Regions from separate parts of the Homo sapiens genome. Here regions 1 and 3 are each linked to region 2. Evidence: promoter capture Hi-C in 16 types of primary human blood cells and fetal thymus (Javierre and others, 2016). All regions are on one chromosome and are shown on one strand. The core of a region is centred on a gene start or on the middle of the fragment in contact, and the rest is flanking DNA. Distances in the headings are between cores, read along the strand shown.

What was found. Contacts are between HindIII fragments. The CHiCAGO score rates a contact against its expected background, and 5 or more counts as called.
Region 1: a fragment that was not itself captured here is called in contact with the fragment with the promoter of GLB1 in region 2 in 3 of 17 cell types (total B cells, erythroblasts and naive B cells); the score reaches 8.1 in total B cells.
Region 3: a contact is called between a fragment that was not itself captured here and the fragment with the promoter of GLB1 in region 2, in 1 of 17 cell types (total CD4 T cells). The highest score is 5.2, in total CD4 T cells.

What each region holds. Positions count from the first base shown.
Region 1 is chr3:33,789,579-33,793,645 of GRCh38, reverse strand. PDCD6IP-DT (PDCD6IP divergent transcript) reads left to right here. Exons shown (of 2, transcript NR_183731.1): 2 at 1-2. Among named protein-coding and RNA genes, the nearest start is that of PDCD6IP-DT, 6.9 kb to the left of the region's middle. RefSeq lists an enhancer at 3,500-4,067. The HindIII fragment of the contact is 4,076 bases long and covers 79-4,067 here.
Region 2 is chr3:33,094,624-33,098,650 of GRCh38, reverse strand. GLB1 (galactosidase beta 1) reads left to right here and starts at 1,505. Exons shown (of 16, transcript NM_000404.4): 1 at 1,505-1,640. The coding sequence starts at 1,566. TMPPE (transmembrane protein with metallophosphoesterase domain) reads left to right here and starts at 1,505. Exons shown (of 2, transcript NM_001039770.3): 1 at 1,505-1,932. RefSeq lists a silencer at 1,308-1,917. The HindIII fragment of the contact is 8,101 bases long and covers 1-4,027 here.
Region 3 is chr3:33,808,295-33,812,218 of GRCh38, reverse strand. PDCD6IP (programmed cell death 6 interacting protein) reads right to left here. Exons shown (of 18, transcript NM_013374.6): 2 at 93-147. Among named protein-coding and RNA genes, the nearest start is that of PDCD6IP, 12 kb to the right of the region's middle. The HindIII fragment of the contact is 826 bases long and covers 2,183-3,008 here.

The DNA of each region.
Region 1 (4,067 bases), core at 867-3,366, 690 kb before region 2:
AATGTATGTAATTTCATTTGTCTTCACTTATTTAATATTTATAACCATACATTAAATGAAAACCAAATCCTACAAGCTTCATGGTACAAAGTTTTGGTAATACTTGGATGACCAGACTAAGTTATTCAGCAGATATTTTTTGAGCTTATACTGTGTGCCAAACAAAATGTAGTTCAAGAGAATTCTATGACCAATCTATTAATCTATTGTATATATTTACAGAGGTCTTTAATCCACCCTTATATAAGGTAGTTCAGCAAACAGTTCATAGGAGGAGGTCTAGGAAAGCAGTTAAGGAAAGTCCTAAAATGGCAGCTCTGCAGCAAGCAGAAAGTACAACTAGCCCAGAATAAGGAGAGGGTGGAGGGGCGCAGGAGGAAGATCCAATAGAGGGAAAAAAAAGGTTGAAGGGATTAGATAGAATAAAAACCACCAGGGTTCTCGTTGGAAAAATTATTCTTTTCCCTTTGTAATTAACAACTAATTTGTGGGAATATAATTCGAGGCTATTAAACATACTGTTCCACATTAAACTTTCTTCCACTAGTTTTAGCATACTTCGATGATTCTTCCATGAATCTAATATTTCTGTGATGATTGCAAAATGGTAATTTTCTTATCCATTATTCTGCCTATATCTATTAGCTGACATTATTCTAGAAAGAAGAATTTTCTTTTCTCCCTTATTTATTCATTTATATGTTTATACCAGCATGGACCCATAGATTTTTATTTAATTTGGTAGATTATAATCTGTTATTATTATTTATTTTGACGCTCAGATTGTCCAAGATTTGACTGATATGAACACCCTCAAGCTGGCTCCTGTGTTCTTTTTCTTCCAATATTTTCTTTTCTTTTCTTTTCTCTTCTTTTCTTTGTTTTTTTGTTTTGTTTTTTTGAGACAGGGTCTGGCTCTTTTGCCCAGGCTGGAGTGCAGTGGTGCAGTCATGGCTCACTACACCCTCAACCTTCCAGGCCCAGGCTCAAGCAATTATCCTACCTCAGCCTCCCAAGTAGCTAGGACTACAGGTGCACACTACCATGCCCGGCTAATTTATTTGTTTATTTTTTGTAAAGACGGAATATCCCTATGTTGCCGAGGCTGGTCTCAAACTCCTGGACTCCAGGGATTCTCCTGCCTCAACTTCACAATTCATTTTTAAAATTTCAGCCACAGCATAGAGTTTTGCAATAAACACTCACCTACCCACCACCTAGATTCTAACATTAACATTTTACTATGCATGCTTTATCTCACATTTGTCCATCTAATCTTCCCTCTATCCACCCATAAATCTACCTTGCTTTTTGGATCCATTTCATAGTAAGTTGCAGTCATCAGAAAGGAAAAGTAAAATAAGTAAATTTATTGGTAAATAGGCAATTGATGGGAGTCAAAAGATATTTAAATGATATCAATGAATGTCACTTAAAGTTAAAAAATCGAATAGCAGAAGGAGGTAAAGAAAAAAGGAAGTAAAGAAAAAGACTTTTAAAATGACTCACAAAAGAAAACCCAATGTGATAGATTATAAAATTGGCCACAAACTCTTCCTCTCCCTTTATCATGATTTTGCAGTGTGACATTGCAGATCTTCCCACCAGGAAGTGGAGTCTTTTTCTGCACCCTTTAAGTCTAGGTCGTTGATGTGAGCTGCTTTGGCCAATGGGGCATTAGCAGTTGTGATGCAAGCAGACACTTCAGTCATCAGGGTTTGTCCTCTCTTACTGCACTTGCAACCCCGTGACCTCCATGTGTACCGTCTTGCCTGCTGGATTATGAGAGACGTGGTTGAGTCACTCTCCTAGCCCTAACCAACAGTCTGCTAATTGTCAGACATATGAACAAGGCTATCTTAGATCATCCAACAACCAGGCAACACCCTAGATGACCTCAGACACAGAAGCAAGCACCTGAGAGATCAACTGAGCCAATCTAGACCAGAACTGTTAAGCCAACCTACAGAATTATGAGCTAAATAAATGGCTGGTTTTTAAGTTTTGGCATGGTTTGTTATGCAACAGAAGCTAACTGATACACTATCATTATGGTACATGCAAGCAACATACCTAAAACAAAATGATTCAGAAAGGCTAAATAGAAAGGAATAGACAGACATACTAGGTGCTGTGGACTGAATGTGTACCCCCAACAGTCACTTCTTGAAATTCAGTTCCAAATGCGATGGTATTTGGAGGTGGGACCTTTGGAAGGTAATTAGATTGTGAGCACAGAGCCCTCATGAATAGGATTAGTGCCCTTCTAAGAAGAGACGCAACAGCACTTGCTTCCTCTCTCACTCTGCTATGTGAGGATACAGTAAAAAGGTGTCTATATGCAAAGCAGTAAGAGGGCACTCACCAAAACCCAATCATGCTGGTACCCTGCTCTTAGACTTCACATCCTCCATAACCGTAAGAAATAAATGTTGTTGAAGCCACCCAATCTATAACAGCTTGAACTAACTAAAACACCAGACAAATGGAAACAATAGGAGTGCAGGGTCGTTCTTTTGATATCAGACAATTCAGACCAAAAAGGCTTAAATGTAATTAAGGACATTTCATAATGCTAAAGGCTAAAATTATCCAGAAAAAAAAATGTAGCTAAAAGCCACAATAAAGATAAGAGTTTGAAATATCAAACTTTTGTATCAGCTAACCCAAAATATCTGTGTACCAAGTAACACAGCAACCACCATCATAAAAAAGAAACTATGGGATTACATTTCCAAGTAATAATTTCTTATCTTTGGCCAACTCTGTGAGTAGCTAAGGGAATTTTAAAAAGTGTTACTCAGGGATGATCCAAAGAAGATACATTTGGAAGCAAGATAGGTGGATTAAGTCTGTGCTGAATAATAATTTGTCATACCTCATTATAAGAGATGTGGCCATGGCCAGGCGTGGTGGCTCACACCTGTAATCCCAACACTTTGGGAGGCCGAGGAGGGCAGATCTCTTGAAGTCAGGAGTTTGAAACCAGCCTGGCCAACATGGTGAAAACCCAATTCTAATAAAAATACAAAAAAATTAGCCGGGCGTGATGGCAGGCGCCTGTAATCCCAGCTACCGAGGAGGCTGGGGCAGGAGAATCACTTGAACCCGGGAGGCAGAGGTTGCAGTGAGCTGAGATTGTGCACTACTGCCTGGGTGACAAAGCGAGACTCCGTCTCATAAAAAAGAGAGAAAGAGAGAGATGGCCTTGTAAAATTACAGGACAGAAGGACAGATGGGAAAATATGTATCTTCTACCTTGTGGTTAGGCTGTACTCTATGAAAATTAATATTTGTCCTTGGGAGATGGTGATTCAGCAGTCCCCTGCAGCACAGTCAGGAGAGCAAAGAAGTTCATTGATGACTCACAAGAGAAGTGAGTTCCTTCACCTGTCCTTTACTTTTTGGTGAAACCTGGATAAAGTTCCCCACGTTCTCCACCCTAACTTGGAATATAAGAGAACTCCTCTACTCTCACCCAGCACAGTCTCCCCCAGAGTATTATTCTAGCTTACTTGTTATTAAATGGGTAATTTTGCTCTCCAGTGGTCATTTTTGGTTGTCACAACTTGGTGGGAGAGGATGCTACTAGCCTCTAGTGGATAGAAGCTAGAGATGCTTCTAAACATTCTACAATGCACAGGACAGTCTCTCATAGCAAAAATATTATCCAGCCCTAAATGTCACTAGTACTAAGGGTAAAATTCGCTTGAAAAGCATATTACTCAGAACAGGCTCCAAATTTTGAGAAATATACCGCTAGGGGTATAGTCTGATCTATTTGGAAGGGGTGGGTTGTTCAGAGAATGAATAAAGTCTTGCTTTGAAAGGTGAGAAGAAGGAAGCATTGTTGCAGAGATATTGGCTCCTAAGAATAGGGGAGAAAAATAAGGAAGTGGAGTACATCAATGAGGGGTGAACTTCCAGAGGAATTTTCCATTAAACTAAAGAGAAATTTACTGCCATTTTCTTTATTGACCCCACCCTCATTAAAGGCAGAATGAAGGAACAAGACAGCAAAGAATGTGACTGGCCCCATGGAAAGGAAGTTGTATCCTATCCTGGGG
Region 2 (4,027 bases), core at 256-2,755:
TTCCCCAATTATCCAGTGAATTTGATATTATTAGCCCTGCTTTACCAACAAAGAAACTAAGCTCAGAGAGGTTAAGTAATTTGCCCACAGTTACACAGACAGTAAGTGGCAGAGCTGGAATTCCAACTCAAGTGTACTTCCTCCAGAGCCCTTGTTCTTTAATACTGAACTAGAATTGCAGAGCTTGGAAAGGACTTCACAGTGCAAGGACACGGAATTGGTACTACAGGCATGAAAAGAAGCCAGGCACGGTGGCTCATGTCTGTAATTCCAGCATTTTGGGAGTTCCAGGCAGGTAGATTGCTTGATCCCAGAACTTCAAGACCTGCCTGGGAAACGTGGTGAGACCCTGTCTCTACAAAAAATACAAAAATTAGCCGGGTGTGGTGGCGCACGCCTGTAGTCCCAGCCACTTGGTAGGCTGAGACGGGAGAATTGCTTGAGCCCAGGAGGCCAAAGCTGCAGTAAGCCGTGATTGCGCCCCACTCCAGCCTGGGTGACAGAGTGAGACCCTGTCTCAAAAAACACAAAAACAAAACAAAAAAACAACCCCCCAAACCAAAAAACAAAAACCTAAGAAAAGCCAGTAACTGATACTTTCTCAATCTCTCAATGAAATGTCCTTTCTGATACTTTCTCAATCTCTCAAGGACATGTCCGGTAGGAAAGGAGAAAGGAGTGAACAAATAGAATTTTGGCTACTTTGTTATACAATGTAAAAAGGCTTTTTGGAACACCAAGGCATAAACTAAGGTTATTTTAAAAAAGAAAATTTTTTTTTGATACGGAATTTCGCTCTTATTGCCCAGGCTGGAGCGCAATGGCTCGATCTCGGTTTACTGCAACCTCCACCTCCCGGGTTCAAGCGATTCTCCTGTCTCAGCCTCCTCAGTAGCTGGGATTACAGGCGCCTGCCACCACGCCCGGCTAATTTTTGTATTTTTAGTAGAGACGGGGTTTCATCATACTGGTCAGGCTGGTCTGGAACTCCTGACCTCAGGCGATCCGCCCGCCTCGGCCTCCCAAAGTGCTGGGATTACAGGCGTGAGCAGGATTTTCATTCTAACAAGTTCCAGGTGAGTTGATACAGTGGCTCCAGGGACCGACCACATTTTGCTAACCCCCGGCTTAGAGTTATTCAAAGAGCCCGTATATGAGACGCGGATTCCATCTAGGGCGTTTAGGTTTAATGATTAACAATTTCCCTCTTCTGCTCTCTCAAGGCAGCCAGGGAACAGGGAGACCATGATTCATGTCCAATCCCCGAGGCGCGTTATCAAGCTGCTGAAAGCAGGCCCTCCGGACTGCAGTTCCAAAGGGTCCCTTCCCAGGGAAGACGCCTGCAAAACCCAGATAGTACTATCCTGGAGTCACGCGGCGGCGCGCAGCCTCCTAGCCGCCCCCACCCGCCCGGCTCGGCCACAGCGGGGCGGGGCGCGGGGCTGAGCAGGCGCGAGGGCTGGCTGCTGGGCCGACGAGGGGCGGTGCCAGGCCGTGGGTCCTTAGTCAAGTGACGCGAAGCGGCCGGCCTGGGCGCCGACTGCAGAGCCGGGAGGCTGGTGGTCATGCCGGGGTTCCTGGTTCGCATCCTCCCTCTGTTGCTGGTTCTGCTGCTTCTGGGCCCTACGCGCGGCTTGCGCGTAAGTCTGCGGGACCCGGGTACGGGGAGGCATTGCTAGGGGACAGGCTGGCGGGGAACCGGGCTGGGGTCGCAGCCACCCGCGGTCCCGCAGGGCGGGGAGCCTGAGCCCCGAAGTGCCCCCCAGCAGGCTCGCGGCCGGCGGAACGCAGGCAGTGGACCGGCCTTCCCGTCGGGGGCGGGCCGGGCGGGGCGCGCGTCCTTCCAGGCAGCTCGGTCGCTTGTGCGTTCCGCTCCGGCCGCCCTTTGCGCTTGGATCCACTTCCCCATCTGTAACGAGGTGTTGAGACGAGGTGCGTGTAAACATTTCCTAAGTTGGCTTTCCGGGAGGGGATTCCAAGTTGCGCGGGTTAGAGGGTGCCTCCGGCTCTGGTTTGGGGCGCCCTCGCTTTCCCAGTTGGTGCTCTGCGGAGCGCTCCGGAAGGAGAAAAATGGGGTCAGGAGAGGCCCTTGCAGTGGGAACATTGGGTTATTTCCCCTCTGGGTGCTCTCCCTCTTCGTGCATCTTGTTCCTTTCTCACCACTCCCCGTCGCCTGCCCTTTGGCTTGGGTTTTTCTTTGTATTTGTGGGACCGTTTTCCTTCGGCGTTTGGGGGTCCAGGTTGAGGGGGGGAATAGGCAGGCTGCCGGGGGATGCCATCGTTGATCGGGGCAGGGCTGGCGAGGCGAATAGGTGAGGTGCGGGGCGTGCACAGTTGGTGGGAGAGGAAGGACAGCTTCACTCGCTGCGTCCGAGCTGAGGCGACTGGCTGAGGGGCTCCAAAGCGCTGCCTGGGGAGGTTTGCATCACACCTGCGGAAAGGAGAGTGGGTAGTTGCAAGCTGCTCCTCTGCACGTTCCGCGGACCAACTTTGGTTCCTCCAGGGTGTAGGTGGGCTGAGCCTGCAGTATGCTTTAAGTAAGAGCTGGTAGCATTTGACACCGTTGACTTGTAAGTTACACCCTTTAATAACGCTTTCAATAACGTGCCTAGGGCAGAGAAAAGTGGTACATTTATCTACAACCAAGATTGAACATCTTAAGTATTTGGAAAACAGCTGCTGAAAATGTTTTCATTTTGGGAAAAAGTCAGCACAGATTATTTGCTGCTCCCTCTTCACCCCGTCTGTGGTTCCCCTACCCCAGTATGTAGACAGAGTTTTCTTGTCCAGAAGGCCCGTAGGACCTTAGGAGTCAGAGCTAGCCAGCTGTGAGAACCACTGGGGAAGGTGGAACTGGGGCACAGTTCAGGAGAACAGTGGCAGGGTAAGGGGCTAGGGGAAAGGCAGATCTTAACCAGTATCTGGGAGTGGGGGTAGGGAGAGAGAGAAGGATTTATGAACCAGGAACAGGTGGACAGGGTCAATCTGTCTGATGTGAGCTCATCAGTCTTGTGCAGCGTCATTGGGTCAGGGTGGATGCCCTGTGGCTGCCATACCTGAGGCCCACACAGGGAGGCTGGCATCACCCCAGGAATTCTCATTTCAGGTGCCTAGGTGTCCCTCTTGGGCTTCTGTGCCCACAGCTAAAGAAAGATACCAGCAGTCTAGCTTTCCATTATCTCCTTGTTTACATTTCTTTAGGGTTCACGCCATTCTCCTGCCTCAGCCTCCCGAGTAGCTGGGACTACAGGCGCCCGCCATCACACCCGACTAATTTTTTTCTTTTTTTGTATTTTTAGTAGAGACGGGGTTTCACCATGTTAGCCAGGATGGTCTCGATCTCCTGACCTCGTGACCCAGCGGTTCTCAAATTTTAACTAAATTTTAGCTGTCCTAGAAATTAAGAGAATATTCCTTTTTTTTTTTTTTTTTTTTTTTTTGAGACAGAGTCTCGCTCTTTTGCCCAGGCTGGAGTGCAGTGGCACGATCTTGGCTCACTACAACTTCCACCTCCCAGGTTCAAGTGATTCTCCTGCCTCAGCCTCCCGAGTAGCTGGGATTACATGCATCCACCACCATGCCTGGCTAATTTTTGAATTTTTAGTAGAGACAGGGTTTTACCATGTTGGCCAGGCTGGTCTTGAACTCCTGACCTCAGGTAATCTGCCTGCCTCGGCCTCCCAAAGTGCTGGAATTATAGGCGTCAGCCACTGTGCCCAGCCCTAGAGAATATTTTAAACTATTTGTTAAGAAATACTACATCATTACACGTTAATAAACAATATATATATTTGAAAAACAATAGTATTTCTCCCCAAATTTTAGGGTGAAGAGTTGCACTGTTTTACATTTCTGCAAATCTCTTTCAATGTCTCTTAATAGAAGACAGTCAAATTTTCATGTTTATTTCTGCATTAAATCTGTTGCCATATCACATGTCACATAGCCTCTGGAAGACTCCACCCCCTCAGGACAGAGTGAGAATGGAAAAGGCAGTAATGGCTTGGAATTATAATAAAAATAGTTT
Region 3 (3,924 bases), core at 1,346-3,845, 710 kb before region 2:
CTATCTCATAAAACTCTAAAGACAGTGAAGATATTGGCAGAAGGAAATGGGTGCTATTACCATATAATTTTAAGACAGAATTAATGACTTACCTGATTTTCAGAAAATGGGAATTTGGGTTCAATAGAACAAATCTGATCATAATATCTAAAAAATAGAGCAGAATTAATAATTACCAGAGCTAAATATTACATGCATTTATGTAATTACAACTGGTTTAAAATGATACAAAAATTATTCATGCTTACTTTGAGCAGCTATTTTATATGAAAAAAAGTTTTTTAATACGTAAACCAGAAGCTTAAAAAATATATGCAGTGAAAAACTATGAACAAAAAGTCATACCCACCACCACAGAAAAATATTTATCAACTGTTATTGGCTAAAAGCAAACTAACATCTGCTCTGAAAACCAAAATATTTCTTAAAAATACTATTTCTTACTAAAATAAATAAGTTTGTATCCATTAGACAAATTAGTATCTCTGGTAAACTGCCAATTAAAAACAGGTTTACCGACTTTTAAATGTTTTGGGTAAGCCCATCTCTATCTGTCTCCAGCACTGCCACACAGCACATCAAAGCTACCACTGTCTTTCAGCTAGAAATCCAAAAGTTTCCTAGACAACCTCTCCATCTCCTTTCTCATTCTTTCCGACCTGTTTTCTGCATAGCAGCCAGAATGATCACAAAATATAAAGCAGACTTCCCCCCATCAGGGTGAGCTGTCAGTCAGCAAGTCTGGCAGGGAAAGGAGGAGAAAAGGGTCAGGCCAAGCTTTCTAACTGGCCTCTAATCTTTCCTCCTTTCCTTTTTCCCTTATACTTCCCCCACCCCTTCATCAGGGGTATTTTTGTAATGATTATTTCTGGGGGCAAATTTTCAGCAGGAGTGGGCAACATATCTGAGACCAAGCTTTTGGCTGGCATGGCTATGAGTTTGGTTATAAACAGGAAAAACTATCCAATTAAGTAAATACATTGAAGATAATGGAAGCCAAGTTTCCCAAGGTCAGAGATACAAATACCTGAAAGGGCCAGGCACAGCAGATCACGCCTGTAATCCTAGCACTCTGGGAGGCTGAGGCAGGTGGATCACTTGAGCCCAGAGTTCGAGACCAGCCTAGGAAACACAGCAAAACCCTGTCTCTACTAAAAATACAAACATTAGCCAGGCATGGTGGCGCACACCTGTGGTCCCAGCTACTCATGAGGCTGAGGTGGGAGGATCACTTGATCTGGAGGTCATGGCTGCAGTGGGCCAAGACAGCGCCACTGTACTCCAGCCTGGGCAAGAACCTGTCTCAAAAAAAAAAAAAAAAATCCACAAACATGAGAAGGCAGAAGGTTAGAATAACTCCACAGTTTTAAACTGGAACTGGAGATATCAATGTGAACTTTTTTTGTTTGTTTACAGACAGGGTATCATTCTGTTGCCCAGGCTGCAGTACAGTAGCACAATCACAGTACACGGTAACCTTGAACTCCCAGGCTCAAGCAATCTGCCCACTTTAGCCCCTGAGCTGCCAGGACTACAGGTGCATGTCACCACACCCAGCTAGTTTTTAACTCATTTTTTAAAGGTAGCAGAGAGAAATAAAAACAAGTATAAATGTGTAACTATGTATTTCCTAAATGTATATGCTAAGAGGGCCTATAAGCAGTAACACTTCACAGTAGCAATAAGCACACCTACTGCCCAGATAATCTTTTGCATTAAAATGAGCCAAGTGCTCCTTAGAGAAATGGCTGACTCAAGGGCTGAGACTGAAAAAATTCAATATTCAAGTCTAAAACATCTTGCTATGCCAGAAAGTTAAGGAAGTACTCAAAAAATGATGAGGACATGTCAAAAGGGCACAGGAGGTAGCTTTAAGGGGCTCCCAATGGCTAAGCACTGAACCAATCTAAATAAAATAACAGTAAAAAATAAGAGCCCATTGAGGAAAAGACCACCATTCGGAGGTAAATAAACAGGTGAATAGGGAAAACTCTATCCTACGGTACCATAGTCTAGATGAAATTAGAAAAATTACCATTTGGTACCTTTCAGAGTATAATATCTAATTCTGGTAAGATTCATCAATAAATGATAAAATAATGAAAAGTGTGTAATGAAACAGGATATTACATAGTCCCAAAGTATCTCCCCACAAAATATTTACTAATTAGTACAACAAGCTTATTAACTGTAAGGTCAAGAAACCTGGCAAACACCATCTTAACCAAGCGATAAAAATAAACATTACCACTACAGAACAAATCCACATCTTATTTTTCCTGATATGCACTAGAAAGAACACAGCATCACTTCGCTGGTACTCCTATGCAAAAATGCAGAAATCACAAGAAAATGAGACAAGCCTTTATTGAGGAAAATTCTAAAAAGTAATTAGCCTGTACTCTTCAAAAATGTCAAGGTCATGAAAGACGAGAAAAACTGAAGAACTGGTCCAGATTGAAGGAGATTAAAGAGACGTAACAATTAAATGCACTGCATGATTCTAGATTAGATCCTGAACCTGTAAATAATATTAGGAAAATCAGCAATATTTGAATGAATTCTACAGATTAAATGGTAATAATGAATCAATGCCAACTTCCTGACTTTGAAAGTTGTACTATGGTTATACAGGAGAATATCTTTGTACTCAGGAAATAAACTCTGAAGTATTAAGTACTGAAACCCTTTGGTGGATTCCCATTACACTTAAAATTACATCCAAAAATGTTGAAGGTCTTACAGGATATGGCTATCATCCAACTCTCCAGCCTCATCTCAGGATATTCACTATACATTCGAGTCACTAAATTATAGGCTCTCCTTGCTCAGGGCCTTCACTCTTTTTACCACCATTTCTCACTATTGTCTAGGCTGACATTGTTATCAAAGAAAGTTTTCCTCATTCATTCATTCAACAAATATATACTAAGAGCTTACTATGCACCAGTTTTAGGACATTAAGAATTTAGCAGTAAACATCTAAAAATCTGTGCTCTTGTGAAGCTTTTAGAGGGGAAGACAAAAAAGCAAAAATATTATATAGAAGACAGTGGTAAGTGCCATGGAGAATAAAGAGACAAGAGGAATAAAGTGAATATATGAGGAGAGGTAAGAAGGTTGTCGTTTTAAATAACATGGTCATTTGACTACATGAAAAAAAGTTTTAACTCTAAAACAGCATGACCATAAAAGGCATGAAAAAGGTGATGAGGTGAGCCAAGCAGATATCTGAGAATTTCCAATCTAGGGAAAATCAAGTGCCAATACCCTGGGACAAGAGGGTACTTAAGAATGTATCTGGCATGGCAAGGAGACCAATATGATCATAGAGTGAGCAAGGGAGAAAATAGTAAGTGATGAAGTCAAAGAAGTAATGATGCCTTGAGTGCAACTGTAAGACTTCTGAGTTTTACTATATAGTGTAAGAGTGTGAATCATCAAAAGGTTTGGACAAAACAGCAATATGACTTATTTTCATACAGTCACCATGACTGTTGTGTAGAAAACTGACTGCAGGTGTGCACGAGCAGAAGTAGAGAGATCAGTTAGGAAGCTACCGTAGTAATCCAGTCAAGAGATGATGCTAGCACGGATCAATGGAGTCCACGGTGGCAGCAGAAGTGATAAAGTTAATCTAGGCCAGGCGCTGTGGCTCATGCCTGTAATCCCAACACTTTGGGAGGCTGAGGTAGGAGGATCACCTGAGCCTAGGGGTTTGAGACCACCCTGGGCACATAGTGAGACCTCATCTTTACACATACATACACACGTCAGCCAGGTGTGGTGGTGGGCCTACAGTCCCCCAAAGGGACTATGCAGCGGGATAAGGTGGGAGGATCACTTGAGCCCAGGAGGTCAAGGCTGAAGTGAGCTGTGATCCCACCACTGTACTCCAGGATGGGCCATGGCGTGAAATCTTGT